7 separate regions of the Homo sapiens genome follow, and regions 2, 3, 4, 5, 6 and 7 are each linked to region 1. The links are contacts of gene promoters, found by promoter capture Hi-C in human tissues and cell types (Jung and others, 2019). All regions are on one chromosome and are shown on one strand. Each heading gives the region's core, a stretch centred on a gene start or on the middle of the fragment in contact. The rest is flanking DNA. Distances are from core to core; before and after follow the strand shown. Region 1 holds the start of ADCY9 (adenylate cyclase 9). Region 2 overlaps SLX4 (SLX4 structure-specific endonuclease subunit). Region 3 has its middle 13 kb from the start of SLX4. Region 4 overlaps TRAP1 (TNF receptor associated protein 1). Region 5 overlaps TRAP1 (TNF receptor associated protein 1). Region 6 overlaps CREBBP (CREB binding lysine acetyltransferase). Region 7 overlaps CORO7-PAM16 (CORO7-PAM16 readthrough).

Region 1 (4,163 bases), core at 1,102-3,601:
AAAGGTTTATTTTTTAAATTTTTAGATAAACTTATTTTGAAATAGTTTTAGACTTGAAGAGTTGCAGAAATACTAGCGAGTTTCCCTGTATCCTACATCCAGCTTCCCCTAATTTTTTTTCCCCCAAGATGGAGTCCTGCTCTGTTGCCCAGGCTGGAGTGCAGTGGCATGATCTCGGTTCACTGCAAACTCCGTCTCCTGGATTCAAGTGATTCTTGTGCCTCAGCCTCCTGAGTAGCTGGGATTACAGGCGCACACCACCATGCCCAACTAATTTCTGTATTTTTAGTAGAGACGGGGGTTTCACCATGCTGGCCAGGCTGGTCTTGAACTCCTAACCTCAGGTGGTCTGTCTGCCTCAGCCTCCCAAAGTGCTGGGATTACAGGTGTGAGCCACTGCACAGGGCCCAGCTTCCCCTAAAAATGTTAACGTCTTACCTAACCATAGTAAGAGGATCAGAACCAGGAAATTGCAGATCTTATGTGAATTTTGCCCGCTCTCCTGCTACTGTCCTTTCCTGTTCCATGTTCCCAACCAGCATCCCATGTTCCATTTAGTTGTTGTATCTATCCCCTTAGGGACGATTCCTAGATTGTGACAGTTTCTCAGTCTTTGTCTTTCAAGACCCAAAGTGTCCAAGGACACTTTTGATGGGTACTGGTTAATCACTTTGTAGAACAGGTCTCAATCTGGGTTTGTCTGGTGTTTTCTTGCGATTGGATTGAGATTACACACTTCTGCAGGAATACCACCACAATATGTTGCTTTTAGTTTTTTCCTCCTTTATTGTGGTAAAATACACTCAACATAACATTTACCATTTAAACCACTTTATTTTATTTTATTATTATTTTTTGAGATGGAGTTTCACTCTTGTTGCCCAGGCTGGAGTGTAATGGTGCGAACTCAGCTCACCACAACCTCCGCCTCCCGGGTTCAAGCAATTCTCCTGCCTCGGCCTCTCGAGTAGCTGGGATTACAGGCATGTGCCACCACGTCCGGCTAATTTTTGTATTTTTAGTAGAGATGGGGTTTCTCCGTGTTGGTCAGGCTGGTCTCGAACTCCCGACCTCAGGTGATCCGCCCACCTCGGCCTCCCAAAGTGCTGGGATTACAGGCGTGAGCCACCGCTCCCGGCCTAAACCACTTTAAAGTGTATGATTCAAGGGCAGTATGTAGATTCATCCTGTTGGATCATTTCTAGACTTTTTCATCATCCTAAAACGAAACCCCAAGCTGCTTATCTTCCTCCCCTAGCACCTGGCAACCTCCAATCTGTGTCGCCTCTACGGATTTGCCAATTCGAGACATTTCATCTGGATGGAATCATACGCTATGTGGCCTTTTTTGTTTGGCTTCTTTCACTAGCATAACGTTTCCCGGGTTCCTCCACACTGCAGCATGCATCGGTGCTCCATTCCTTTTTGTAGCCGAATAATATTCCATTGCATGGACAGATCACATTTTACTTTTATTTTCTAATTCAACAGTGAGACCTGGTGTGGGCCCCGGCGCTGGGCCTGGGAGGCGAGGGAGGGGATGGAAGAGAGCCCCGTGACTGGCAGGAGGCACTGTGGAGTGTGGGGAGAAGGGGTCGGGATCTGCATGCTAGAGAGAATAGGATTTTATTTACACGTGGCAATGTTTATGGAGGCCAATGCACAACTGCCATTATGGGACGCGGACTCCTTTGAAAGTCTCATTTGTGTAAAAGGAAAAGCAGTAGTTCATGAGGAGGGGGAGAAGGGCTCAAGGACAGCAAGGTAAACTACCCCTGGGGCGGGGGAACGTGGTCGTCGGTGGGCCCAGCTTTGGAGGCTAGGCCCGTGAAGGTCGCCCCGTGAGCAGGTCCAGGGCAGGCCGAGTGCCCCGGGGCCCGCATTCATTGCTTACAGAGCAAGGGGAGCCTCCCGGGAGGGAAATCCAACGGTTGGAAACTTCGATTTATCCCAAAGGCGTGCCGAGTGGGAAGGCAACATTTTGATTTCCCAAACGTTGCGGCCAGCGGCTTCTTCCACGGCAGGCGCCTTCAGGTCTCTCCGCAGGGTCGGGACCCCGGGCGGCGCGCGGCCTCTGGGACGCCGAGGGAGGGCGGGCCCACAGCGCCCGGAGCGCGGACAGCGGCCACAGCCCGCCGCCTAGAAGCGGCGCCGCCCGGGGCGGGGGGCGGAGCCGAGCGCGCGCCCCGCCCCGCCCCGCCCCGCCCCGCAGCCCCAGCCCAGCGCGCGCACCAAGGCGGGGCGGCGCGCGGCCCGTGCGCGTGTCCGGGGCCAGGAGGCGGTGGCGGCGAGCGCGGGCCGCGCGTGCGCGCTGCGGCTGGGCGAGGGGCGGCGCGGGCGCGCGTCTGTCAGTGACAGCGGGCGGGGCAGGGGCCGGAGATGGTGGCGGCGGCAGCTCTTCCGACATGAGGCAGCGGCCGCGGGGGACACGGCGGCGGGCGCGGCGGCGGCCGCATCTCTAGCTCGGGGAGGCGGCCCCCGGCGTGGGCGCGGGCGGGCGGGCGTCCCGGCCGGCGTCGCGGGAGCCCGGCTCTGCGGCAGCGTCTGCACCGCCGCCCGGCGAGGGGCCCGCGTCCGTGGTTCCACGCGCTCGGTCCCGGGACAGCTGCGGCCGCGGCGGGAGCGGCGGCGCACTCGGGGGGAAGCAGGCCCCACTAGACGGGCCGCGCCGACGGGCTCCGCGCACTCGCAGCCCGGGGCGCCCCCACCCCCAGCGCCCGCCGCCGCGGGCAGGGCCGGCCCGGAGCGCGGGGGGCGGCCGGGGAGCGCGAGCCGGGGGCGCCCGCCGAAGCTCGCTGCTCCGGGTCGGGGTCCGGGCCCGGGGCCGGCCGCGCGCCGCCTTTGACGCATCGGAGCGCGGCTCCTGCAGGATGGAGGGCTCCGCGCCGCCAGCGGAGTTGTTTGTGCGCAGGCGGCTCGCGGGGCTGGGAGCGCTCAAGGTCTGAACTTCCCTCCGGAGCCGCAGCTGGAGGAGGCGAGCGCGCGAGGAGGAGAAGCCGCGCGGCGCGGAGGCCACCCTCGGGGCGAGAGGCGCGGAAGGCGAGCGAGCAAAGCGGTCCCGGAGCCACGGCGGCCACGCGGCGGGGACCCCCGGGCGTTCTAGGTCCGTCCCGAGCGGTTCTCGTGCGCCTCGAAGGTGGGGGCGGTGGGGGCGGTGGGAGCACCGCTGAGCCGGGAACCACAGGAACAGATGGTGCCTGTCCAGGTCGCGTGCTGGAGCCGCCCCTTAGGACAGGAGCAGGTCCCGGGCCTCTAGGCGTGCATGCCTAGGTGGGAGCGCCGCTAACTCTCCCCGTTTTGCTGGCAGGTACTGGTGACCCCGGCCGGGGCAGGCCCCGGGACTCGACAACATGGCTTCCCCACCCCACCAGCAGCTGCTGCATCACCACAGCACCGAGGTGAGCTGCGACTCCAGCGGGGACAGCAACAGCGTGCGCGTCAAGATCAACCCCAAGCAGCTGTCCTCCAACAGCCACCCCAAGCACTGCAAATACAGCATCTCCTCTAGCTGCAGCAGCTCTGGGGACTCCGGGGGCGTCCCCCGGCGAGTGGGCGGCGGAGGCCGGCTGCGCAGGCAGAAGAAGCTGCCCCAGCTGTTCGAGAGGGCCTCCAGCCGCTGGTGGGACCCCAAGTTCGACTCGGTGAACCTGGAGGAGGCCTGCCTGGAGCGCTGCTTCCCGCAGACCCAGCGCCGGTTCCGGTATGCGCTCTTCTACATCGGCTTCGCCTGCCTTCTGTGGAGCATCTATTTTGCGGTCCACATGAGATCCAGACTGATCGTCATGGTCGCCCCCGCGCTGTGCTTCCTCCTGGTGTGTGTGGGCTTCTTTCTGTTTACCTTCACCAAGCTGTACGCCCGGCATTACGCGTGGACCTCGCTGGCTCTCACCCTGCTGGTGTTCGCCCTGACCCTGGCTGCGCAGTTCCAGGTCTTGACGCCTGTCTCAGGACGCGGCGACAGCTCCAACCTTACGGCCACAGCCCGGCCCACAGATACTTGCTTATCTCAAGTGGGGAGCTTCTCCATGTGCATCGAAGTGCTCTTTTTGCTCTATACCGTCATGCACTTACCTTTGTACCTGAGTTTGTGTCTGGGGGTGGCCTACTCTGTCCTTTTCGAGACCTTTGGCTACCATTTCCGGGATGAAGCCTGCTTCCCCTCG
Region 2 (4,163 bases), core at 977-3,476, 510 kb after region 1:
ATGGCAAGCAAGTGAACCGGCCCACTCTGTGAATGGGGAGGGGGGTGTGCTTGCCTCTGCTCCAGATCCACCTGTGCTCCGGGAAACAGCACAAAACACCCAGACGGGTAACCAGCAAGAACCATCGCCAAACCTTTCCAGAGAGAAAACCAGAGGTAATTTGTACTCTTTTAAACCAGGGGCTGGAAAACTTCCTGGAAAGGGCCAGATCGTAAATATTTTGGCTTTGTAGGCCACACAGACTCTGTCACAACTACTCAACTCTGCTGTCATAGTGAGAAAGCAGGCGTGGACAATATGTAAATGAACAGGCATGGCCATATGCCAGTAAAACTTTATTTACAAAAACAGGCAGCCAGCCACATGACCGTAGTTTGCTAACTTTTGGTTTGTTTTTATTTTTTAATTTTTAAGCTTAAAAAAAAATTTAGAGCTGGAGGTCTCACTATGTTGCCCAGGCTGGTCTTGAACTCCTGGACTCAAGCAATCCTCGTGCCTCAGCCTCTCAGAGTGCTGGGATTACAGGCGTAAGCCACTGCGCCCGGCTGACTCCTGGTTTAAACAACAGTCAAGAAAAACATAACCCGTGTGAATTTTTCACATGATTGTGTTTGGAGTCCTCTGCTCTTTCAGAATTTCCTATGAAATTCTGTTATATGATTGACATGAGTTACACAAACAACACAATAATGCTGCTTCTCTTGTTTTCTTGAATTTATTCCAAAGTGGGTAAGTTGGACTGGGCCAGCCAATTTGGATAGGCTGCTGAGAGGGCCGCATGAGGACTCTGTGTGGGCTCAAGTCCCAGGAGAATCTTCAGGTTCTTTCTTTCTCTCTCTGAAGACCTTTTAATCTTTTCCTTTGTTATTGTTATTGATTTATTTACTTACTTAGTTTTTAGAGACAGGATCTTGGTCTCTCACCCAGGCTGGAGTGCAGTGGTGCTATCATAGCTTACTGCAGCCTTGACCTCCCAGGTTCAAGCAGTCCTCCCTGCCTCAGCCTCCCGAGTAGCTGGGACCACAGGCACCCACCACCGTGCCTGGATAATTTTTTAACTGTTTAAAGCAGTTTTCTTGCCCTGCTGCCCTTGGTATACTGAGCTATATGCTTACTACACATTCTTCATGCAAAACTGAAAACTACCCTTGCATATATAATACACCATGGGCTCTCTGAGCTCCTGAGTTCTGTTTCTAAATTTCCTTTGCCCTCACTTCCTGATCTTAATAACCTCTCAGTAGAGTGGTGGTAGAGTCTCAGGTCGCATAGACTACTGGAAGGCATCAGCAGTGTTGCCTCACCAACTTTACTGGTCTCTCGTGCTCTTTGCCAGTCGGATGAAATCTATGCATGGTTCCCCCAAAACACGTATCCATGCGCGTATCTGCAAAACTGGCACACAACTTCATGGGGTTCATGGATCCCCACTGAAGATCATCCGTGGATCCCAAGTTAAAGAAGAACTGATCTAGGACATAAACCTTTGTCATTAATATTTCTTTAATAATAGCTTTATTGGGGTATAATTGATATTCCATAAAATTCACCATTTAAAAGGGTATGGTTCAGTGGTTTTTAGTATATTCACAGACTTGTCCAACCACCACCACTACCTAACGTTAGAACAGTTTTATCATCCTAAAAATAAACCCCATGCTCATTAGCAGTCACATCCCATTCCCCTCCTGTTATTGATATTTATGTCTATATTGCCATAAACAAAGAGGTTACCAACAAGCAACCAGTCCTCTTCACATTTGTGAGTCAAACCTAAACTAGTTGATAAAGGACTCTTGAAACTTGCGTCTAACCTGTATCTGGTAGAAAAGTCTTTTATTTCTCCAGCTACAACAGATGGTTGTGAATATTTTCCTCCTTGCCAGAGAATGTGCCCAACAGCGACTCCCAGCCTCCTCCTTCCTGTTTGACAACAGCAGTGCCAAGTCCCTCCAAACCCCGCACAGCACAATTGGTCCTACAGCGAATGCAGCAGTTCAAGAGAGCAGACCCCGAGCGTTTGAGACACGCTTCAGAAGAGTGCTCCCTCGAGGCTGCGCGGGAAGAAAATGTCCCAAAGGATCCTCAAGAGGAGATGATGGCGGGGAATGGTATGATGAGTGTGTTTCTGTCTTCCACACAGAGATAAGTTAATACAACTCTGAGGAAGGGAGGCGGGAAGGAATCAGCATTTGTTGAGTTTCTTCTGTGGATAGGCTCTCTGCTTGATGTTTTACCTTTGCCACTTCACTGGATCCAGCCAGAGAATGAAGAGTCTCTGGGATCATTTCCCACCTAGCTTCCTTGATAAGGTACCGTTTTGTTTTTTTTTCTGAGACAGAGCCTTGCTCTGTCACCCAGGCTGGAGTGCAGTGACATGATCTCAGCTCACTGCAACCTCCGCCTCCCAGGTTCAAGCAATTATCTTGCCCCAGCCAGTGGGATTACAGACGTGTGCCACCACACCTGGCCAATTTTTGTATTTTTAGTAGAGACAGGGTTTCGCCAAGTTGGCCAGGCTGGTCTCGAACTCCTGACCTCAAGTGATCTGCCTACCTCAGCTCCCCAAAGTGCTGGGATTACAGGCGTGAACCATTGCACCTGGCCCTCTTCCTTTTTTTTTTTTTTTTTTTTTTTTGAGATGGAGTCTCGCTCCGTCACCCAGGCTGGAGTGCAGTGGCACGATATTAGCTCACTGCAAGCTCCACCTCCCAGGTTCACGCCATTCTCCTGCCTCAGCCTCCCGAGTAGCTGGGACTACAGGCTCCCACCACCACGCCTGGCTAATTTTTTGTATTTTTAGTAGAGACAAGGTTTCACCTTGTTAGCCAGGATGGTCTCGATCTCCTGACCTCGTGATCCACCCGCCTTGGCCTCCCAAAGTGCTGGGATTACAGGCGTGAGCCACTGTGCCTGGCCTCCTTTTTTTAAAAATTATGACTTTTTATTATGAAAGCTTTCCCTTTCAGTTTTTTCCTTTTAAAAAGATAACCCTCAGTATTCACAAAGAACTCTTCCTTTCAGAAAAGGTTTTTTTGTTGTTGTTGTTTTAATTACAATGAAGCCAGGCATGATGGCTCATGCCTATAATCCCAAAACTTTGGGAGGCCAAGGCAGGAGGACTACTTGAGGTCACAAGTTCGAGACCAGCCTGGACAACATAGTGAGACCCCCATCTCTACAAAAAAATTTTAGGGGCCAGGCGTGGTGGCTCACGCCTGTAATGCCAGCACTTTGGGAGGCCGAGGTGCGCAGATCACAAGGTCAGGAGATTGAGACCATCCTGGCTAACACAGTGAAACCCCATCTCTATGAAAAATACAAAAAATTAGCAAGGTATGGTGGTGGGTGCCTGTAGTCCCAGCTACTCGGGAGGCTGAGGCAGGAGAATGGCGTGAACCTGGGAGACAGAGCTTGCAGTGAGCCGAGATTGCACCACTGCACTCCAGCCTGGGCAACAGAGCAAGACTCTGACTCAAAAAAAAATTTTTTTTTAATTAGCTGGGCATGATGGTGCACAACTGTAGTCCCAGCTACTCGGGAGGCTGAGGTGGGAGGATTGCTTGAGCCCAGGACGTTGAGCTGCAGTGAGCTGTGATTGCATCATTGCACTCCAGGGCAACAGAGTGAGACCCTGTCTCAAAAAAAAAAAAAAAAAAATTACAATGAATCCCCTAATCCCCTATACCTCAATCTAGATTTAACAAATGTTAACATTTGGCCATTTGTTTATGTCTTTATAAATATACATTTTTTTTTTTTTTTGAGATGGAGTCTTGGTCTGTCTCCCAGGTTGGGGTGCAGTGGCGCAATCTCGGCTCACTGCAAACTCCACCTCCTGGGTTCAAGCCATTCTCCTGCCTCAGCTTCCAGGAAGCTGGGACTACAGGCATGCACCACCACGTCCAGCTAATTTTTGTATTTTTAGTAGAGTTGGGGTTTCACCATGCCGGCCAGGCTGTTCTGGAACTCCTGACCTTGTGATCTGTCCACCTCAGTCTCCCAAAGTGCTGGGATTACAGACGTGAGCCACCGTGCCTAGCCAAGCGTACATATTTTTCTTCCATATTATCTGAAGGTAAATTATAGACATTAGGATCCTTTACCCCTAGATTCTGCTGCATAACCACAATACCATTAGCACGCTTAATTCCATAATAGTG
Region 3 (4,163 bases), core at 495-2,994, 490 kb after region 1:
TTCTTTGACTAAATAAGTTGAACACTTCTTCATATACCTGTTGGCCACTCAAGTCTCTTGCCTGTTTTTCTATTTTTTTTTTTTTAGGATTTCTTTAGATATTAATCCTTTGTCATTGTGCATATGATACTAGTCCCGTGCACATCACACACATCTTCTAGTCTGTGGTATCTTTACACCCTTTTTGAGATAGAGTCTTGCTCTGCTGCCCAGGCTGGAGTACAGTGGCAGAATCACGGCTCACTATAGCCTTGGCTTCTCAGGCTCAAGTGATCTTCCCACCTCAGCTTCCAGAGTAGCTGGGACTACAGGCGCATGCCCTGACACCCGGCTAATTTTTAAATTGTTTGTTCAGACAGGGTCCCACTATTTTGCTCAGTCTGATCTCAAACTCCTGGGCTAAAGCGATCCTTCTGCCTCGGCCTCCTGAAGTGTTGGGATTACAGGCATGAGCCACCATGCACAGCCCTTTACACCCTCTTAATGGTGCCTTATAAAGGTTCTTAATTTTAATGTCACATAATTTGTCACTTCTTTATGGTTAGTGGTTTGTGTCCCTGTTTAAGAATTTTTTGCCTACCCCAAAGTCATGAAGATTCCCTCCTATGCCTTTTTTAGCACCTTTATTCTATATTGGCCGTTTCATTTATTTATTTATTTTTTGACACAGGGTCTTGCTCTGTTGCCCAGGCTGGAGTGCAGAAAGGCGATTATGATTCACTGCAGCCTCGACCTCCTGGGCTCAAGCGATCCCATTTCAGCCTACTGAATAGCTGGGAGTAGAGGCATGTGCTACCATGCTGGCTAATTTTATTTAAACAATTTTTTTTTTGCAGCGATGGGTCTCACTACACAGCCCAGGCTGGCCTTGAACCATGGGCTCAGGCAATTCTCCCTTCTCAGTCTCCCAAGTTTCAGAGACTACAAGAATATAACATCATGCCTAGCCCCATTAGTTTGTTTTATTGTTTTTTGTTTTGGAGACAGAGTCTCACTCTGTTGCCCAGGCTGGAATGCAGTGGTACGATCTCGGCTCACTGTAACCCCTGCCTCCAGGGCTCAAGCAATTCTCCTGCCTCAGCCTCCCAAGTAGCTGGGATTACAGGCATGCACCACCACACCTGGCTAACTTTTGTATTTTAGTAGAGACGGGGTTTCACCATGTTGGCCAGGCTGGTCTTGAACTCCCAACCTCAGGTGATCCGCCCGCCTAGGCCTCCCAAAGTGCTGGGATTACAGGAGTGAGCCACTGCCCCCGGCCCCCATTAAGTTTTAATAAGAAAAACTGCAGGCTGGGCATGATGGCTCACACCTGTAATCTCAGACTGTGAGAGGCTGGGGCAAGCAAATCACTTGAGCCCAGTTCGAGACGAGCCTGGGCAACATGGCAAAACCCTATCTCTACTAAAAATAAAAAATAAAATAAAAAATTAGCCAGGTGTGCTGGAAGAAACCTATATTCTCAGCTACAGAAATAGAATACAGGCTGAGGTGGGAGGACTGTTTGAGCCTGGGAGGCAGAGGATGCAGTGACCCAAGTTCCCACTACTGCACTCCAGCCTGGGTGACGACAAAGTAAGACTCCATCTCAAAAAACAAGAAAAGAAAAATTGATTGCAAAAAAATTGTTACACAATGTTTGCTGGTTTGGGCCACCACTGGGAATGGCTTTGCCTGTCTAGATGTTCGGATGCTGAGCACAGTCCACCCAGTTGGACTGCTCCAGGTATAGTACACAGTGGCTGCTAGATTCAGGGTCTTATGGGAACAGCTTCAGCCACTGTGAACTCAGCCAGGGGCGGCAAGGGCATTCTGAAGGTTTAGAGCTCGGCATAAGGGACGCTAACCCAGTGCCTAGAGCACCACCAGGTGCCTTACGCAGCTGGCCAATAACAATTTTAATGTAAAAATAAAAACTCTAGAAGAAAACATGCAGAAAATTACTTTATAATCTCAAAGTAGAGAAGACCTTGCTAACCAAGGACACAAAAGCCACTAACCTTTTTTTTTTTTTTTTGAGACAGAGTCTCACTCTGTCGCCCAGGCTGGAATGCAGTGGCACAGTCTAAGGTCACTGAAACCTCTGCCTCCCGGGTTCAAGCGATTCTCCTGCCTCAGCTTCCTGGGATTACAGGCGTGCACTACCGCGCCCAGCTGATTTTTGTATTTTTAGTAGAGACGGGGTTTCACCATGTTGGCCAGGCTGGTCTTGCACTCAAGTGATCCGCCTGCCTTAGCCTCCCAAAGTGCTGGGATTACAGGTAGTGAGCCACCGCACCTGGCCTCCATACTGTTTTCTATATAGAGGTTATAGTAATTTACAGTCCCATTAACAGCATATAAGCATTTCCTTTTCTGTGCATCCATGCCAACATCTGTTGTTTTTTGACTTTTTAATAATAGCCATTCTGACCAGTGTAAGATGATATCTCACTGTGGTTTTGATTTGCATTTCTCTGATGATTACTGATGTGAGCACTTTTTCATGTTTCTTTGCCGCTTGTATGTCTTCACTTGAGAAGTATGTGTTCTTGTCCTTTGCCTACTTTCTCTCTAATTCCTGGCCTCAAGTGATCCTCCTGCCTCAGCATCCCAAAGTCCTGGGATTACAGGTGTTAGCCACCACGCCCAGCCTTTGCTCACTTACTAATGGGTTTTTTTTTCTTGTTGAGATCCTTGGAGATACTACGTATTAGTCCTTTGCCAGAGGCTTAATTTGCAAATATTTTCTCCCATTCTATAGGTTGTCTATTTACTCTGTTATTTCTTTTGCTGTGTAGAAGTGTTTTCATTTAATTAAGTCCCATTTGCCTATTTTTCTTCTTGTTGCATTTGCTTTTGAGGTCTTAGTCATATATTCTTTGCCTAGGCTAATATCCAGAAGAGTTTTTCCTAGGGTTTCTTCTAAGATCTTTAGAGTTTCAGGTCTTATGTTTAAGTCTTTGAGTTAATTTTTGTATGCGGTGAGAGATAGAGGTACGGTTTCATTTTTCTATATATGGTTAGCCAATTTTCCCAGCGCTATTTATTGAATAGCGTGTCCTTCCCCCACTGCATATTTGTCAACTTTATTGAAGATCAGTTGGTTGCAGGCAAGTGGCATTACTTCTGGGTTCTCTATTCTGTCCCACTGATCTATGGTACAAAAATATGTACAAGTACCATGCTGTTTTAGTTACTGCATGAGTAGCTAGGACCACAGGTGTGCACCACCATGCCCAGCTAATTTTTTTGGGGGGACGTGGGGGGCAGGTACATTAGAGATGGAGTCTTACTATGTTGCCGAGGCTGGTCTCAAGCTCTCAAGAAATCCTTTCCCCTCACTCTCCCAAAAGAGGCCTTGTAGTATAATTTCAAGTCAGGTAATGTGATGCCTCCAGCTTTGAAGAACCTTTGTTCATTACAAGGCATCATTAAGAGAACGTAAAGGTGAGTCAAACACTGGAAGAAGGTATGTGCATACAAGAAAAGTTATTTTACTACAAAAAACTGTAAAGCTCTACATGGAAAAAATTTTATTAAAAGTCAAAGCCAAGCCAGGTACAGTAGCACATAGGTGTAGTCCCAGCTACGTGGGAGGCTGAAGTAGGGGGATCACTTGAGCCCAGGAGTTCAAGTCTAGCCTGGGCAACATGGTGAGACTCCACCTCAAAAAAGAAAAAAAATTTTTTTAAGTCAAATGATAAAAACTGGTAAAAACTATCTGTAACATTGTAACACTATATCCATTTCCACAATATAGAGTTCTTACAAATCAATAGGAAAAAGATTAATCACATAATCTTACAAACCAATAGGAAAAAGATTAATCACACAATCTAAAAGAATGCAAAGCCCACAAACATAAGGTCATAGGTAAACAAGTAGCTTTTAATCACGTGAAGAAAATACTCGTTTCCTCAATGAAAGAAATGTAAAGTAAAGCTACAAGACACCAATTTTTAACCGCTGAAATAGTAAAAGACAAAATGTTTCATGATATATTCTGTGAGTGTGTGGATATGAGTAAAAAGACATTCATTGTTAACGGAATGGAAACTGATTCAGCCTCCGTTTTTTTTTTTTTTTTTTTCAGTCTTGCTCTGTCACCTAGGCTGGAGTACAGTGGTGTGATCTTGGCTCACTGCAACCTCCACCTTCCGGGTTCAAGCGATTCTCCTGCC
Region 4 (4,163 bases), core at 1-2,500, 440 kb after region 1:
CATCGGACAACGTGGGCCAGGGCAGTGGGCGTGTGTATTTTACTTGACTTTGGCCTTAGGACCTTTGGCAGTATTATAGTAGAAAAATGAAGTGCTGTGCGGTGCTTACAGACGCATGCGCGTGATTTCTACTCTTTTTCCCACAAAGTGTAGAGTCCAGGAGACTTGAATATGGAAGCCAGTTTGGAGCCTCTCCTCACTCCTGGCCTTCCTATGGAAGGAGCTTATTCAAGGGAAAGAGCTTATTCAAGCTGCTCTTTCCCCACCCCCAGGTGTGACCCACAGGCCTCCACCTGTCTGGGACAGGCAGGACTGTGAGCTTTGGGAATCAAATGGAAAACACACTTGTCCCACTGCTGCCAGCTGGTTGTCCTAGGGCTAATGTGTCACCTCTCTGTGACTTAGCTCTTCACGTGTAGAATGGGGTGGAAAAGTACTCGGTGTGGCTGTTTTCAGGATGAAGGGGTCTTAGCGGTGCTCGCAGAAGAGCCACGGTGTTGGGAGTGTCTGCTCTCTGGAGGGGAGGCTGCCTCACTAACTGGCCTCTGCCCCACAGGCCTTCCTGGATGCTCTGCAGAACCAGGCTGAGGCCAGCAGCAAGATCATCGGCCAGTTTGGAGTGGGTTTCTACTCAGCTTTCATGGTGGCTGACAGAGTGGAGGTCTATTCCCGCTCGGCAGCCCCGGGGAGCCTGGGTTACCAGTGGCTTTCAGATGGGTGAGTGACGAATGTCGCCTGACAGGCAGCTCAAAGCTGAGCTGGAGCCCTTAGCATGGAGTTTGGAAAGGGATGGACTCAGAAAACGTACACAGGCATTTTCTGGGCTTTTTATATGAAATCTGACTCTCCCATTTTGGGGAGTTAGTGACTTTTGTGGCTCCAGGTGGCCTATGGCACCTGTCTGGTCCCATGTGGTTGGTCACCACCACTGCGCTCGGGAAGGCAGGTCCGGCCCGCGCTGAGCTCCTTTCTCAGTGGCTGAGCTGCAGGACTGGCCTGTCGCCTGGTGGACACTATGCAGCCTCCTGTGACCGACCTTCTGCAAGAGCTCATTCTGCTTCCTCCCAGCCCTGGCATTTCCTGGCTTTGTCTCCCCAGCCCACTTCTGCCTCTATAGGGTGAGGAGCCTGCTGGGGGCTTTTTTTTTTTTTTTTTCCTTTGGGACGGAGTTTTACTCTTGTTGCCTAGGCTGGAGTGCAATGGCACAATCTTGGCTCACTGCCACCTCCGCCTCCCAGGTTCAAGCAATTGGCCTGCCTCAGCCTCCTGAGTAGCTGGGACTACAGGCGCATGCCACCACGCCCAGCTAATTTTGTATTTTTAGTAGAGACAGGGTTTCTCCATGTTGGTCAGACTGGTCTCGAACCCCGACCTCAGGTGATCTGCCCGTCTTGGCCTCCCAAAGTGCTGGGATTATAGACGTGAGCCACCACGCCTGGCTCCGAGGGCTTTTTAGCAGGTGAGCCGCTTCCAGCCAGCCGAGGCGTCCTCCCTCCGTGATGCCATTTCTGCTCCACAGTGTGTGCACTGTGCTCAGCTTGACTCCCCACTCTCCCAAAACTAACATTCCTGTTTAATTCCATGGGAGCGGGGCTCAGAGTAAACTTAGGCCAAGGCATCAACATGGCCCTGCCGGGGGATTCCCCCCTCCTGTGCTTCGGAGATGGTTTTCTGCTCTTCTTAGGGGGCGCCTGTCCCCCTGGCCTTTGTTTTTGCCCCTGGGCATCTGGCACCCGATTTGGAGCTGGGCCAGTCCCCCACAGTGCCCCAGGCCTGCTTTTGGGGTAAGCCCAGAAGCTTCTTCGAAGCCCAGGGTCGGTGGAGGACCCCCGCCCCCCCGCCCCCCGCCCGAGGGAACCAGGAGAACTCTGCCGCCTGCGACAGGCTCATCGTTCCTGATGGGCATGTGATGGCCTGAGTGGTGCGCTGGGGTCAGAAATGGGGCATTTGAGGTGTGTTGTGTGTTGTTTGGGCTCTGCCTATGAAACCCTCGGGAACCGCTGGAGTCCCATGCAGGGTATGTCCCAGTGTCACATCCACCTGGCTTTTCCTTTCTTTGCCTGCCTTAGTTCTGGAGTGTTTGAAATCGCCGAAGCTTCGGGAGTTAGAACCGGGACAAAAATCATCATCCACCTGAAATCCGACTGCAAGGAGTTTTCCAGCGAGGCCCGGGTGCGAGGTGAGCGGGAGCCCGGGCCCAGGCTCACTCTGGGATCCATGTGTGGCCTGGAGGCCACCAGGTCAGCAGGCATTTTCCCTGGTTCTACCTGCACGTAGGGTGCACAGGCAGAGCCGTGAAGGGCCGAGCCGCTGCGGGACTGGGAGGGGGGCTGCCCGCCAGGGCTGCGTAGCATCGAGCTCCTGCTGGGACTGGGAGGAAGCTGGCCTGGCTGAGGCGGACCTCCTCCTCCTTCCTCTGCGTGGCCCTTGGCCTTTAGTGCACCTGGGGGTTTGGCGCAGTCCTGTCCCAGGATGTGGGCGTGGCCTTCCCTCTTTGTGTCCTGCTGGACACTCAGGGAGGCCCTGAGTACCCCCAGGAGTCAGCCCAGAAAGCCATGTTCCAGCCACAAGCTGACATTGCAGTCTCGCAGCAGCCGGGGCCTCCACAGCTCTGGTTCTCACGTGGGCTCCGCTGCTGCCCCCGTGAGACTGGGGGGAGGACAGGTGTCCCCACTGTGCCCTGTTTCTGTACCTGTGAAGTGTACACAGCATGGAGGACCCTTCCCAGCAGGCTGGCGCTCATCCTGGAGCTGCTGCAAAGCTTGCGTTTCCACAAGCATTGTAGATGCAGTGTGGTTTTTCTTTTGTCCCTTCCAGATGTGGTAACGAAGTACAGCAACTTCGTCAGCTTCCCCTTGTACTTGAATGGAAGGCGGATGAACACCTTGCAGGTGAGCCCTGAGTTCCTCTAGGGACTGGTCAAACATGGAGACAAATCTGTACGTTTCAGGGCAGCGGAGAAGAGATGAGCCCAGGGGATGCGGCCCAGAGTCACAGGGCGAGCTGCTCTGTGGAGATGAGACCTGGGTGTGGGGATGAGACAGGGGCCCAGCTCTACCACAGCCCTGCCCCTGTGCACCGGGCAGCCGGGGTCAGGGGTCAGGGTTCACTGAGGCGTAACGCCCATCCCAGCTGGCTCACCACATCAGTGTGCAGCCATGGTGTTCAGTGCAGCCACAGAGCTGTGCAGCCACCCCGCATCAATTCCAGAACATCCCATCACCCCAAAAAGCAGCCCTTTCCCCACTGCCCCTCCCCCAGTCCCAGCAGCCACGGTCTCCTTTCTGTCCATTGTGCTGCCTGTTCCAGACGTTTCTCCTGGATGGAGTCACACGGCATGCTGTCCTCAGTGACTGACTTCCCCCTCGCGGCTCAGCTGCGGTGCAGCGTGGGTCGTCATCGCTCTCACGGCCCACACTGTATTCGTCAGCTCGCCCCTGCTGGGCAGCGTCATCCTCTCCCACAGGCCCCCTCAGGTCCCGGCTGGTCCTCCTGACATGTTGTCCTGAGGAGCTCCTGCCCCAGAGCCTTGTGTGTCTCCCCTGCACTACCCGGCATAGCCCAGCGGTGGGGCTGGAGAGGGGTCTACGCCTGAGACCACCGCCCGTCTGTCCCAGGAGCCTGTCCAGGGCCAGGCGCTGCACTGGCTCAGGCCTGCACGGTGGTGGAGAAGACGTGCGTGGTGAACACGACGCCCTCCCCGCCGATCTCCGTTTCCAGGCCATCTGGATGATGGACCCCAAGGATGTCCGTGAGTGGCAACATGAGGAGTTCTACCGCTACGTCGCGCAGGCTCACGACAAGCCCCGCTACACCCTGCACTATAAGACGGACGCACCGCTCAACATCCGCAGCATCTTCTACGTGCCCGACATGGTGAGGCACTGTGGCAGTCCCACGGCCCTCAGGGTGACTCTGTTGTCCCCTGTGGCATCAGCTCTGCAGATGTCACATGATTAACATGGCAGTGTGAGGGCATGAAAAACATAGGTAGTGCTGGGTGTGGTGGCTCACGCCTGTTATCCCAGCACTTTGGGAGGCTGAGGAGGGTGGATCACCTGAGCCCAGGAGTTGCAGACCAGGCTGGCCAACATAGTGAGACCCCATCTCTGAAAAAAAAGAAAAAAAGAACAGATGCCTCTGGGTGGGTAACCACAGAGGTT
Region 5 (4,163 bases), core at 977-3,476, 410 kb after region 1:
ACTCCATCTCGAAAAAAAATTTTTAAAAATTGCTGGGTGTGGTGGCACATGCCTGTGGTCCCAGCCATTTGGGAGGCTGAGGTGGGAGAATTGCTCGAGCCCAGGAGTTTGAGGCTACATTGAGCTGTGATTGTGCCACTGCACTTCAGCCTGGTCAAAGAGCAAGAACCTATCTCAAAAAAAAAAAAAAAAAAAAAAGAGTGCAAATAGGCCAGGAGTGGTGGTGCGCCCTTCTAATCCCACCTGCTTGGGAGGCTGAGGTGGGAGGATCGCTTAAGCCTGCCAGTTGGAGGCTACCATGCACCATGACAGTGCCTGTAAACAGCCACTGCACTCCAGGCAACATAGTGAGACCCCCACCCCACCCCAAAACAAAAGTTACAGTAAAAAGTTGGAAGCTGGGCCTGGTGCAGTGGCTCATGTCTACAATCTCAGCACTTCGGGAGGCTAACGTGGGTGGATTACTTGAGGTCAGGAGTTTGAGACTAGCCTGGCCAACATGGCAAAACCCGTCTCTACTAAAAATACAAAAATTAACTGGGCGTGGTGGCGGGTGCCTCAGCAGGAGAATCACTTGACCCTGGGAATTGGAGGTTGCAGTGAGCGGAGATTACACCACTGCAGAGTGAGACTCCGTCTCAAAAAAAAAAAAAGAAAAAAAGGGCCGGGACTGGTGGCTCACGCCTGTAATCCCAGCACTTTGGGAGGCCGAGGTGGGCCGATCACCTGAGGTCAGGAGTTTGAGACCAGCCTGACCAACATGGAGAAACCCCGTCTCTACTAAAAAAAAATATATATATATATAAAATTAGCCGGGTGTGGTGGCACATGCCTGTAATCTCAGCTACTCGGGAGGCTGAGGCAGGAGAATCACTTGAACCCGGGAGGCAGAGGTTGCAGTGAGCCAAGATCATGTCATTGCACTCCAGCCTGGCAACGAGAGTGAAACTCTGTCTCACAAAAAATTTGGAAGCAACCCAGTTGCCCATCATTTGATGAATGGAAAAAAATAATCTATACAGCGGAGTGCTCTTCAGTTATAAAAAGGAATGAGGTGCTGATACATGCTATATGTGGATGAACCCCAAAGACTTTATGCTAAGTCAAAGAAGCCAGACAAAAAACCATATATTGTATGATTTCATTTCTGTGAAGTGCCCAGAAAAGGCAAATCCATAGAGACAGACATAGATGAGTAGTTGCCAAGAGCTGGTGGGAGAGGGAAAAGAGAGTGAACATGAGTGGCTGTAGGGCTTCTTTTGGGGTGATAAAAATGTTCTGTAGTTGTCCGGGCATGGTGGCTCATGCCTGTAATCCCAGCACTTTGGGAGGCCGATGCGGGCGGATCACGAGGTCAGGAGATCGAGACCATCCTGGCTAACATGGTGAAACCCTGTGTCTACTAAAAAAAAAATACAAAAAATTAGCCGGGTGTGGTGGCGGGCGCCTGTAGTCCCAGCTACTCGGGACGCTGAGGCAGGAGAATGGCATGAACCCAGGACGCAGAGCTTACAGTGAGCCCAGATGGCTCCACTGCACTCCAGCCTGGGCGACAGAGCGAGACTCCGTCTCAAAAAAAAAAATGTTCTGTGGTTAGTGGTCGTGGCTGTACAACTTTGTGAATATACTAAAACCACTGAATTGTGCACTTGGGTGAATTATATGGCAGATGTGTTACATCTCAATAAAGTTACTAAATCTTTCATGTTTTCTTTCAGTACTTTTAGCTTTTATTTTTACTTCTATGGTCCATCTGGAATTCATTTTGACTTAATAAGTGACAGCGGAAATTAAAAAAAAAAAAATAAGAGGTTGGTCTTGCTATGTTGCCCAGGCTGGTCTAGAACTCCTGGCCTCAAGTGTTCCTCCCAACTTGGCCTTCCAAAGCACTGGGGTTACAAACATGAGCCCCTGTGCCCTGCTGGAAATTAATTTAACCTTTTTTTGTGTGTGTTTACTTTTTGAGAGTTGGGGGGGTCTCCCTATGTTACCTAGGCTGGCCTCGAGCTCCTGAGCTCGAGGGAGCCTCCTCCTGCCTGGATCTCCCTCCCAAAGTGCTGGGATTACAGGTGTGAGCAGCCATGCCTGGTCTGGAAATTTATTTTAATATTGTAGCTTTATATTAATGTTCTTTAATATTTGATGAATTTCCTCAGTTTTTTCAAAATTTCTTTGGCTATTTATGTACACTAACTTTTCCACATGAATTTTAGAATGAGAATAGTTTAAAAATGTGTTTGAAATTTTGTAAATGTGTTTATGTTTCTCGTAAGTTTTTAAGTGTTTTTTATAATGCAACGTTTTGTTTGTTTTGAGACAGAGTCGTGCTGTCGCCTAGGCTCGAGTGCAGAGATGCAATTTCAGCTCACTGAACCTCTGCCTCCCAGGTTCAAGCGATTCTAGTGCGTTGGTCTCGCGAGTAGCTAAGATTACAGGTGTGCATCCCCATGCCCAGCTAATTTTTGTATTTTTAGTAGAGACGGGTTTTCACCATTTTGGCCAGGCTGTTCTCAAACCCCTGACCTCAGCTGATCTGCCTACCTTGGCTTCTCAAAGTGCTGGGATTACAGGCGTGAGGCACCTCACCTGGCCTGTAATGTAACTTTTGTAAATAGTTTTGTTTTTTGATTTTTTTTTTTTGAGACGGGGTCTCGCTCTGTCGCCCAGGCTGGAGTGCAGTGGCGCGATCTCGGCTCACTGCACGCTCCGCCTCCCGCGTTCACTCCATTCTCCTGCCTCAGCCTCCCGAGTAGCTGGGACCACAGGCACCCGCCACCACGCCCGGCTAATTTTTTGTATTTTCAATAGAGACTGGCTTTCACCGTGTTAGCCAGGATGATCTTGATCTCCTGACCTCGTGATCTGCCCGCCTCGGCCTCCCAAAGTGCTGGGATTACAGGCGTAAGCCACCGCGCCCAGCCTAACTTTTGTAAATAGTTTTATAAGTAGGGTATTTATTTTGTAGATTATTGATATATGTAGTCCAATATGCAAACGATACAGAGGTATATCTGATGAAAAACTCGTCTCCCACTGACATGCCTCAGACAACACCCCTCCTGGTGGCAAGTCCATTAGCCAGTTTTTGGGTGTCCTTGCAGAGATCTGCGTGGCATATGAGAATAGCTATGCATGCATGTATCACATAACATGTATATGCATTTGAACACCATGGTAGTGTGTGCAAACCGCTGTTCTACCTCTAGTGTTTTTTCTTTGTGTTAGAGGTAATTCAGCATCAGCACACATTACACAGCATTGTCCCATTTCTCTATAATCCCATGCTTTCCAAGTGTTACCTTACGTCTGTAGTTTACTTGTTAGTCCTCCGCTTGTGAGTATGTAGCATATGTAACAGTCTTAAGTGGGTTATTTAATGACAGTCTTTGGCCCTAGTAGTGTTTCAGAGTTTTCTTAAAAGATCTTGCCAAAAAAGAAAAAAAAGGAAAGATTTTGCTTTCTTGGTAAATGCATTCTTAATTGTTTAGTTTTTGTTCCTGGGGTCTCTTATGTCATATTTTCTAACTAGTTTTCTGTATATAGGACGTCCGGGTGTTGATTTTTGTATTCTACCATCTTACTGAATGCTTTTTTTTTTTTTTTTTTTTTTTCAAGACGGAGTTTCACTCTTGTTCTCCAGGCTGGAGTGCAATGGCAGCATCTTGGCTTACCACAACCTCCACCTCCTGGGTTCAAGCGATTCTCCTACCTCGGCCTCCCAAGTAGCTGGGATTACAGGCATCCACGACAACACCTGGCTAATTTTGTATTTTTAGTAGAGATGGAGTTTCTCCATGTTGGTCAGGCTGGTCTCAAACTCCCAACCTCAGGTGATCCGCCTACCACAGCCTCCCAAAGTGCCAGGATTACAGGTGTGAGCCACCGCACCCAGCTTTTTAAATTTCTCTTAAAGACAGGGTCTCACTTTGTCACCCAGGCTAGAGTGCAGTGGTGTGATCTCGGCTCACTGCAGCCTTTACCCTCTGGTCTCAAGTGATCCTTCCGCCTCAAGTACCCCAAGTAGCTGGAACTACAGGTGCGTGTCACCATGTCCACCTAAGTTTTTGTATTTTTGGTAGGGACGGGGTTTCACCAGTTTGCCCATGCTGGTCTCAAACTCCTGGGCTCAAGCGATCTGCCTGCCTCAGCCTCCTAGAGTGCTG
Region 6 (4,163 bases), core at 769-3,268, 300 kb after region 1:
AATTCAGAAATCTAGAATCTCTAGAAGCAAATGGTTTTTATTCATAACTGCAGGCTAGGACCAGTGCATGGCTCTTGAGTTCTGCCAGGAGGTGGTTTGGCACCAGGAGGTAGCCTTGCCTGGGCAATGAGCAGTGATACCCTGTGAGAGAGCTGACCTCTTTAGCCTGGTTATTAACTTTCTCTGATAAGGAGAGGCTGGGGCTGGCCCTGGTGCCAGAGATTTGAACCCTAACCTCCTGCATGTAGCCTGGGTTTTGTTTTTATCATAGGCTAAAGACGGGAATTTTTTCCCCTATTTTTGAGAATTGTGTAGATCCCTATGAGCTGGACGTTCCTTACATACCGTTCATGATCTTTGACTTGCCATCTTTTTTACCTTGTGAGAATCAAGGTAAAAACTTGTTGAGACTGTTTCCTTCACTCTCTTATCTGATGGCCAAGAAGAAAAGGTACAAACACGTTTTTGATGAAATCTGTCAGAGCGCTTCCAAACACTGGGTTACCCTTTGAAATTGACCAGTTATGGCCAGGCGTGGTGGCTTATACCTGTAATCCCAACACCTGGGGAGGCTTGAGGTGTATGGATCACTTGAGGCCAGGAGTTTGAGGCCAGCGTGGCCAACATGGTAAAACCCTGTCTCTACTAAAAAATACAAAAATTTGCTGGGTGTGGTGGTGCATGCCTGTGAACTCAACTACTTGGGAGGCTGAGACACGAGAATTGCTTGAATCTGGGAGGCGGAGGTTGCAGGGAGCTGAAATCATGCCACTGCATTCCAGCCTAGGCAACAGAACGAGACTCTGTCTCAAACACACACACACACACACACACACACACACACACACACACACACACACACACACAGAACGAGACTCTGTCTCAAACACACACACACACACACACACACACACACACTAAACAACATTGACCAGTTAGAAAAGGGCCCCAGGCCAGGCAAGTATTACCCATCTGATCACACACTCATACTCACCCTGGCAGGGCTATCTTAGGAAAATTGTCAAAATATCTGGGAAGTTTTGGAAATAAACTTTCTGAAGCAAGTCAGGTGAACTTTGAGGTCCACAGAGCACACTGGCCTCTTGGTACTTAGGTCCCCTCTTCTCTGGAGCCAGGGTGCCTGGGCATTTGGTGTGGAAGGAAGATGGTTACCTGTTCCCTTCCCCACCCCTTCAGCTGTCACCCACTTTGGTTTGTCAATGCTGGGCCTAATTAATTAGAAACTTCCAAAAGACGTTGATTTTTTGTTTGTTTGTTTGTCAAATTGGTTGACATAAGGTGTGAGCTCCGTGACAAGTGGGAAATGCATCTACGCAGCCTCAGAACTGGGCTTGGCTCATACCAGGCACTTGGTGAATACCAGTTGACTTCGAGGATGAATTGATCGAGGGAAAATGAGTGTGGGTGTTCTGTCATATTTTGTCCGAAGTCAGAAATTTAGGAACTGGGGGAAAAAAAACTATATTTTTTGTTGTTGTTCGTGTTGTTGTATTCAAATTCTAGGCTTCTAAGAACAATGTTTCAGCGGTTTGGTTATATGTAATAAGACAAATTCTGAGAGTAGTAAGTGTTCCATGGAATTAATTTAGTATAGTGGTTTCTGAAAATATAAATTCCTGCTTCAATTAAGTTTCAGATGACAGTTGAAGGAAGCTTCTTGCAAATCAGAAATGTGCTTAATATTTATCGAGCTACCATCTTGCCTAGATTAAGTCATTTGAACTCGAAATTGAGTCTGGTTTGTGGACTTGCAGAAGAATTAGTGTCTCAGTTCACTTAAGTAGAGCACCTAGTGGTGACAAGAATGTGATTGCTTTCCAAAAGGTGAGAAATGTCACCTAGGAGGACTACATGGGGAAGGAAATCACCTGCGTATGAAATGCACAGAGCTAGAACTTTCTGGTTATACTCCTTTGGTTTTTATTTGTGTTTCTGTACAGGCATTTCAGCAGAAAGGGCCAGTTGTGTTGAGTGTTGATTTGTTTGTAGCCTAGACTTTTAGAGCTGAAAGAAATAATACGATCCATCTTGTTCAAGACACTCATCTTACAGGCGAGGAGTTTGAAGTCCATAGAAGGAATGTTAAGTTACCCAGAGTGGACATGCTGGCGTGGCAGTCACCAGGTGAGGCTGATGGAGAGAACTGAGCTATGATTTCTTAACTGGAAACTCACCCCTGGGAGGTTTTCCCTATGCGGGGACCTTCCCAGTCCATCAAACTGACCACTACTCCAGAAATACAGAACACACAATAGACAGAAGGTGGAATATTAGAGCTTTGCAAAAAAGCAAAGACAGGCAGCCCAAGCATCCAGTTTCTTAATTAGTCGTTGTTTCTCCACAGGGAGAAAGATAAGCACTGGGATATTGCCATGGCAATTCCTGAATTGACCTGTGGAGGCTGGAGCTGGGGGTCATCAGGGAACTTGGCCCACATCTGTTGATGGAAGGAATTCCAGTTGGTTGCAGGCCCTCACGGAAGCATAGCTGAGGGTTCCTCTTTCCCATTCCTGCCTTTATCTAGTATATATTTGATTTCAGTGCACTTTAATTTTATAAAAAACTTTATTATGGAAAATTTTAGGCCGGGCGCAGTGGCTCACACCTGTAATCCCAGTACATTGGGAGGCCAAGGTGGGCGGATCACCTGAGGTCAGGAGTTCAAGACCAGCTTGGCCAACATGATGAAACTTTGTCTCTACTAAAAATACAAAAATTAGCTGGGTGTGATGGCACGAGCCCATAATCCCAGCTACTCAGGAGGCTGAGGCAGGAGAATTGCTTGAACCTGGGAGAGGGAGGTTTCAGTGAGCCGAGATCACGCCACTGCACTCCAGCCTGGGTGACAGAGTGACACACTCTCAAAAAATATAAATAAATACATAAATTTTACACCTGTACAGTGGTAGAGAGGATACTATAACCTCTCTGTACCCATCGCCTACTGCTTGGTTAGTGATTATCAGTACCTTACCAGGCTCTCTCCATCTATGCCCTTTTCCTGCCACCTCCTCCTGCCCAGTGGATTAGAGGTGACCCTTAAGCAACTCAGGGGTTAAGGGTGCTGACCCTGCCAGTCGAAAATCTGCTTGTAACCTTTTGACTCCATAAAAGTTTAACTACTACTAATCCCCTGCTGTTGATCAGAAGCCTTACCAATAGCATACACATTTGCTTAACACAAATTTCATGTTTTATGTGTTATATACTGTATCTTTACAGTGAAGTAAGCTAGAGAAAAGAAAACGTTATTAGGAAAACCGTAAGGGGCCGGGCACGGTGGCTCATGCCTGTAATCCGAGCACTTTGGGAGGCCAAGGTGGATGGATCACCTGAGGTCAGGAGTTTGAGAACAGCCTGGCCAGCATGATGAAACCGTGTCTCTACTAAAAATACAAAAAAATTAGCCGGACCTGGTGGCACGTGCCTGTAGTACCAGCTACTCAGGAGGCTGAGGCAAGAGAATCGCTTGAACCCAGGCGGTAGAGGTTGGCAGTGAGCCGAGACAGCTCCACTGCACTCCAGCCTAGGCGACAGAGCAAGATGCTGTCTCTATTAAAATAAATAAATAAAACCATAAGGAAAAGAAAATATATGTACCATTCATTAAGTGAAAGTGGGTCATCATCAAGGTCTTCATCCTCATTGTCTTCACGTTGAGGAGGATGAGGAGGTGCTGGTCTTGATCTCTTGGTTGGCAGAGGCTGAGGAGTTTGAAGAGGAGCAGGAGAGATTGAAAAATATTTCCATATATGTAGACCCATGCAGTTCAAACCCATGTTGGTCATGGGTCAGGTGTATTTTAAAGGAGATCCCAGGTGTTGTATCATTTCATTGCAATATTTCCACTGTGTGTTTTGAACTAATGGAAACTTAGTTCAAATCTGATGGGGAACCTAACAGAAACTAGATACCTATAGAGTAATTAAGGATTAAACTGAAAGAATTCCCCTTGGGTAGCAGCTTTGGAAGGTTTTGTTTTCCAAATGACTTTCTTCGGGTGTTGGTGCCATTGTTGGGGCAGGAGGGATTGAGTGAGGAGAGTGGCTGAGGGTGGGGGGAAACAGCTCGTCTACTTGCGGGATGGGGTTTAGGGTGAGGAGAGAGTGGCTGCTAGGAGCTGCTTCATGAGCCTTCTGCTT
Region 7 (4,163 bases), core at 1,193-3,692, 260 kb before region 1:
TCAGGGGCCTAGAAGGCAGACACGCCAGGAAGAGCCAGAGGGAATTCACTGCTTCTGCCCCCAAATGCAAGAGAACCCAATGGTTATGAGTCAGGTCGCCAGTGCCCCGACCCAGGTTCTGTCCCAGCCCCGTCACTCCCTCACTGTGTGACCTTGTCAATGCACACAGAGGTCATCATGGGGCATGACATCCACTGAACGTGCAGTGACCATGCACTGCTTCCTCCTGAACCCCAGGCCCTCCTGCCTCTGCCTAGGTAGGTTCCCCCATCCCCTGCCTCAGAGATGGACCAGGAAGGAGAGAATGGTGGGACTTGGAGCGGCAGCTCCTCCCTACAGGGTCTGGAAGAGGGGGCAGGCAGGCAGCTGGGTGGGTGTGTAAGCAGAGAAGCTGGCTGCCTTGGCCGCCGGCTCCTGCTGCCACGCTCCGTGTCCCGCCCTCCTTGGAGGAGGGAATGCAGCGGGAAGACTTCACATGGAAACTATGGGATCCATGTTTTTCCACTTGGGCAGTCAGACCTGCTTAGGCTGGGGGCTGCGGGCCGCCAGGAAGTGGCCGGCGGGAAGGTTCCTGGAGGAGGGGCAGAGGCCACAGGCATTGGCAGGTGTCCCCTGTGAGGGAGGGAGGCGGGGAGCTGAGGCTGGTGACAGAGCTGGAGCTGGGGGGCCACAGGGCTCAGGTGGGGACACTGGCTACATGGCAGCCCCAGGGGCAGTGCCAGGCCTGGGAAAACTCTGCAGAGTCATTCATCTACTTTTTTTTTTTTTTTTTTGAGACGGAGTCTTGCTCTGTCACCCAAGCTGGAGTGCAGTGGCGAGATCTCGGCTCACTGCAACCTCTGCCTCCCAGGTTCAAGCAATTCTCCTGCCTCAGCCTCCCATGTAGCTGGGACTACAGGTGCCAGCCACCATGCATGGCTAATTTTTGTATTTTTTTTTTTTTTTTTTTTAGTAGAGACAGGGTTTCACCATGTTGGTCAGGTTGGTCTGGAACTCCTGACCTCAGGTGATCTGCCCGCCTCAGCCTCCAAAAGTGCTGGGATTACAGGCATGAGCCACCGTGCCCGGCTTCGTCTACTGTTTCTTGGGGTCTGCCCTGAGCTGGGCACCAAGAAAGATGAGCAGCAGCCATCCCCTTGGCAGTGATGGTGCAAGTCCTTCCCATGTGCCAGCGAAGTGGGAAGGACGAAGGAACACTAAGTGTTTACCGTCACCTCAGGTAGCCCCCCAGCAGCCACGTCAGGGCAGACAGAAGAAAGCAGGGCTCATGGAGGTGCAGGGACTCGCTGCCATTGCGGTGCCAGCAAGTCCGAGCTAGAGCCCAGGTGTGCAGCAGCCACCTGTGAAGGGTGCGTGCCCTCCAGATGGCCCTGGGGGCGGGGGCTCCCACCAGCCGCTCCAGGCTCCAGATCTTAGCTGCACTGCCCAAGTCAGGCAGGTCTGTGGCTGGCCCCCATCACCTAGACTCCTGGGGAGACCGCTGGGGCCGTCCCCAGGAAGAGCCCTCCCCACTTTGGCACCCCTAGAAGTCCCTGAGCCTCATACGGGGTGCCAGCCCATCCCCAGGAAGCATCCTGCCCAGTGGCGCCTGCAGCTCACACAAGAGCCCTTTGTGCTGGAGTCCGGGCTTCCCCTTCCCCCACACAGGCTGTGCAGGTAGTCCAGGGAACACGACCCCGACCCAGCCTGCACTCCGCCCCAGGCTGGGGGGACCCGTCCATAGGGCTCCCTCTCCCCCAGGTACGTGGGTTCCTGGAATGTGAGGAGGAGCAGGTGGTCCCAGGACAGATTAGACAAGTCACTGGTGAGGTGACCACTGGGGTCTGCGGGTAGCTCGAGGTGAAGGAAGAAGCCCTTGTCCCCGGGGTTGGGCCCACGCAGGCCCTGCCCACGTGTAGTATCGCACTGCCAGAGTCGTCTCCCCTAGGAGCTACCGACCCTGAGCCCCTAGCCAGTTAGCGACAACAAGCACCCTTCAGAGGCCAGCAGGCTAAGCCTCCCCAACCTAGCGGTGTCCCCCTTGCTGTCGTGTGCCCCCTCACCTCCCTAAGGTGAGACCCAGCCTGCCTTTGCCATAGGTGTCTCCAGGCCCACTTAGCTCAGGTCTGCTGAGTGAACAGCCCAGGAGGGCCTGGCACTGAGCACTGGAAGAAGTTAGCACCCCAAACCCCAGGCACGCGTCCCTGGCCCGGCCAGCCCACCCCAGGGGGGCTCGTGTCTGATGACCTAAGGCCCTGGGGCCACACCCCTAGCCTTCTCTTCCCCCATGGGACCCGCTCCACCCTCACTGACTCAGAGGACGGCGGGTGCGGCCTGGCCTCCAGATGTGGGCTGTGAGTGACCCCCACCCACCCCATGTCCATATGGGGGGTGAGGCCACCTCTGCCTGAATTAGCCCTCCCAGCAGGGCCAGACCAGGGTCAGGAAGGATGCAGCCAGGTTCCAGAGTGGGAGGGGATCCTCCACGTGGCCAGCCTGGCCAGCCTGGCCACCACTGTGGCCGCAGCTCCCCTTGGGCCTCGTTTAAGGTCACAGTTAAGAGCGCTCACTCCAGGCAGGCGGCCCTGTGCTCAGAGGTGTCCAAGCTGTGAGGCCGCAGACAGTGACTTTGCTCTCACACCTCGGTTTCTTCATCTGAGTATCTGGGACACTTCAGGGCTGCAGTGGGGGATGCATGTGGAGTCCTCAGCCCTGCAAGGCCAGGTGTGCAGGCCAGCTCTTAGGGGCACGTGCTGGGGGGTGCTCTTCACCCTGCACTGGGGAGGGGGACCAGCCATAGCTCTGGGCTCCGTAATCTGTTGGGTCTTTAATCAGCAAGGTTGTGAAGGGAGAGGGGATGCTGTGGGTCCATCTGGCCACAGGGTGGCTTTCCGGCTGACAGGTAGTGAGCTGTGGAATGTGCGTTCCTGTTAGCAGGACAGGGGTCTAGGTCAGGACTGTGGGCTGGGGTCCTGGGCTGACCATCCAGCAGGCGGCAGCCAGCCTGCTTCCCAGCCCCGTAAAATGTGCGGTGAGCTCTTTTGCCTGAGCCCCAATTCTACCCCCACATCAAAGGGAGGAGGGAGGAGGCAGCGCTGGAGCTTTGGAAAACCCCAGAGTTTGTAAGCTACAGGCTGGCAGCTCTGAGGGCACCGCCAGGGACTCCTGGCACTGAGAACCCATCAGCCAGCCCCGAGAGGAACCCAGCGAGGGAAGGCTGACTGTGGAGGGGACGGTGGCAGGGGACAGAGGCCAGAGTTCCTTTCTCAACTGTGGGCCTCAGTTTCTCACCTCTGGAGTTGGTGCAAGCAGCCCTGCCCCCTCACCCTCTGGAGTTGTAGTTTTCTGTTGTTCTGTTTGTTTTCAAATGGGGAAGTTCTTTTAACAAGTTCTGGGAGCTGTCCCGCCCGCCTGGGGTCTGGGCGTGTGCTTGGTGTGTGCGTGGGGCTGGGGGCTGTCTACAGGTCACACGGTGGTTGCCGCCGCCCACCCACCCTCCCACCCGGTGATCCCAGGACCTGGGCTTTGATATTTGATCACTAGTCAGGCAGGGAGGTGAGACCTTTTCCTCTGCCTGGTGCAGGAGGTGTTCCGGAGGCAGCCCTGGGATTCCTGGGATTCGGGGACGTCGGGGGGTGGGAAGATGACGCAAGGGTCTGGGGCCTCCGTCCTCCACCCAAGTTCCTCAGCCTTGCTGAGTGCTGCTGCCGGCCTTGCTCCCTCCCTGGCACAGTAACTGGCATAGGGCGACAGGGTCCACAGCCCGGCCACGACCCCTACCTCAGCCCCCATTGTGCAGTGGGCGCTGCTCGTGGTGCTCGTGGTGCCTGTGTCTGGGGTGACTTGGTCTGTGCTCGGAGCACTTGCCAAGTGGTCGGTAAACATTCACTGCGGAGGGCGTCACTCATAAACGCAGAACTCTGCCTGCCCCCTGGGCGTGGGTACTACTAAGGGAGAGGGTTTCAGGCCAGCTTTACACAGATCAGACATCCCCACACCAAGGCTGCCCTTCACCCTGGGGGCTGGGGAGCGGGGGTGGGGTATCTCTGGTTCTGGAAGGGGGCACGTGGTGGGTGAGCTGTCCCTTGGCGGCCCCTTCAGCACAGGACTTCAGGGAGGGGCCCTATGAGTAAGGAGGACAAGGCACTCGTCATCTCAACTCCCAGGGGGACGCCCACCCACCT

The links. Contacts are between HindIII fragments. The study calls those that stand out against the background at their distance.
Region 2: a contact is called between a fragment that was not itself captured here and the fragment with the promoter of ADCY9 in region 1, in 2 of the 25 tissues and cell types used here (dorsolateral prefrontal cortex and hippocampus).
Region 3: a fragment that was not itself captured here is called in contact with the fragment with the promoter of ADCY9 in region 1 in 1 of the 25 tissues and cell types used here (hippocampus).
Region 4: a fragment that was not itself captured here is called in contact with the fragment with the promoter of ADCY9 in region 1 in 3 of the 25 tissues and cell types used here (IMR-90 fibroblasts, aorta and dorsolateral prefrontal cortex).
Region 5: a fragment that was not itself captured here is called in contact with the fragment with the promoter of ADCY9 in region 1 in 1 of the 25 tissues and cell types used here (dorsolateral prefrontal cortex).
Region 6: a contact is called between a fragment that was not itself captured here and the fragment with the promoter of ADCY9 in region 1, in 4 of the 25 tissues and cell types used here (H1 embryonic stem cells, IMR-90 fibroblasts, dorsolateral prefrontal cortex and 1 more).
Region 7: a contact is called between a fragment that was not itself captured here and the fragment with the promoter of ADCY9 in region 1, in 2 of the 25 tissues and cell types used here (dorsolateral prefrontal cortex and spleen).

Annotation. Positions count from the first base shown.
Region 1 is chr16:4,114,630-4,118,792 of GRCh38, reverse strand. It overlaps ADCY9 (adenylate cyclase 9), which reads left to right and starts at 2,351. Exons shown (of 11, transcript NM_001116.4): 1 at 2,351-3,103; 2 at 3,308-4,163. The coding sequence starts at 3,351. RefSeq lists a silencer at 2,144-2,213. The HindIII fragment of the contact is 7,185 bases long and covers 1-4,163 here.
Region 2 is chr16:3,604,422-3,608,584 of GRCh38, reverse strand. SLX4 (SLX4 structure-specific endonuclease subunit) reads left to right here. Exons shown (of 15, transcript NM_032444.4): 2 at 1-155; 3 at 1,887-2,111. Among named protein-coding and RNA genes, the nearest start is that of SLX4, 5.1 kb to the left of the region's middle. The HindIII fragment of the contact is 4,547 bases long and covers 1-4,163 here.
Region 3 is chr16:3,622,123-3,626,285 of GRCh38, reverse strand. It overlaps a transcript of DNASE1 not described here. Among named protein-coding and RNA genes, the nearest start is that of SLX4, 13 kb to the right of the region's middle. RefSeq lists an enhancer at 193-292. The HindIII fragment of the contact is 6,693 bases long and covers 1-4,163 here.
Region 4 is chr16:3,674,052-3,678,214 of GRCh38, reverse strand. TRAP1 (TNF receptor associated protein 1) reads left to right here. Exons shown (of 18, transcript NM_016292.3): 6 at 557-717; 7 at 2,070-2,179; 8 at 2,818-2,891; 9 at 3,721-3,876. It also overlaps the pseudogene LOC124903630. Among named protein-coding and RNA genes, the nearest start is that of DNASE1, 21 kb to the right of the region's middle. The HindIII fragment of the contact is 6,931 bases long and covers 1-4,163 here.
Region 5 is chr16:3,702,492-3,706,654 of GRCh38, reverse strand. All of the region lies in intron 1 of TRAP1 (TNF receptor associated protein 1), which reads left to right. Among named protein-coding and RNA genes, the nearest start is that of TRAP1, 13 kb to the left of the region's middle. The HindIII fragment of the contact is 6,928 bases long and covers 1-4,163 here.
Region 6 is chr16:3,810,920-3,815,082 of GRCh38, reverse strand. All of the region lies in intron 2 of CREBBP (CREB binding lysine acetyltransferase), which reads left to right. Among named protein-coding and RNA genes, the nearest start is that of CREBBP, 68 kb to the left of the region's middle. The HindIII fragment of the contact is 6,097 bases long and covers 1-4,163 here.
Region 7 is chr16:4,376,668-4,380,830 of GRCh38, reverse strand. The region is part of intron 9 of CORO7-PAM16 (CORO7-PAM16 readthrough); the gene reads left to right. All of the region lies in intron 9 of CORO7 (coronin 7), which reads left to right. All of the region lies in intron 1 of VASN (vasorin), which reads right to left. Among named protein-coding and RNA genes, the nearest start is that of VASN, 6.9 kb to the right of the region's middle. RefSeq lists enhancers at 1,392-2,173, 3,734-4,163. The HindIII fragment of the contact is 6,090 bases long and covers 1-4,163 here.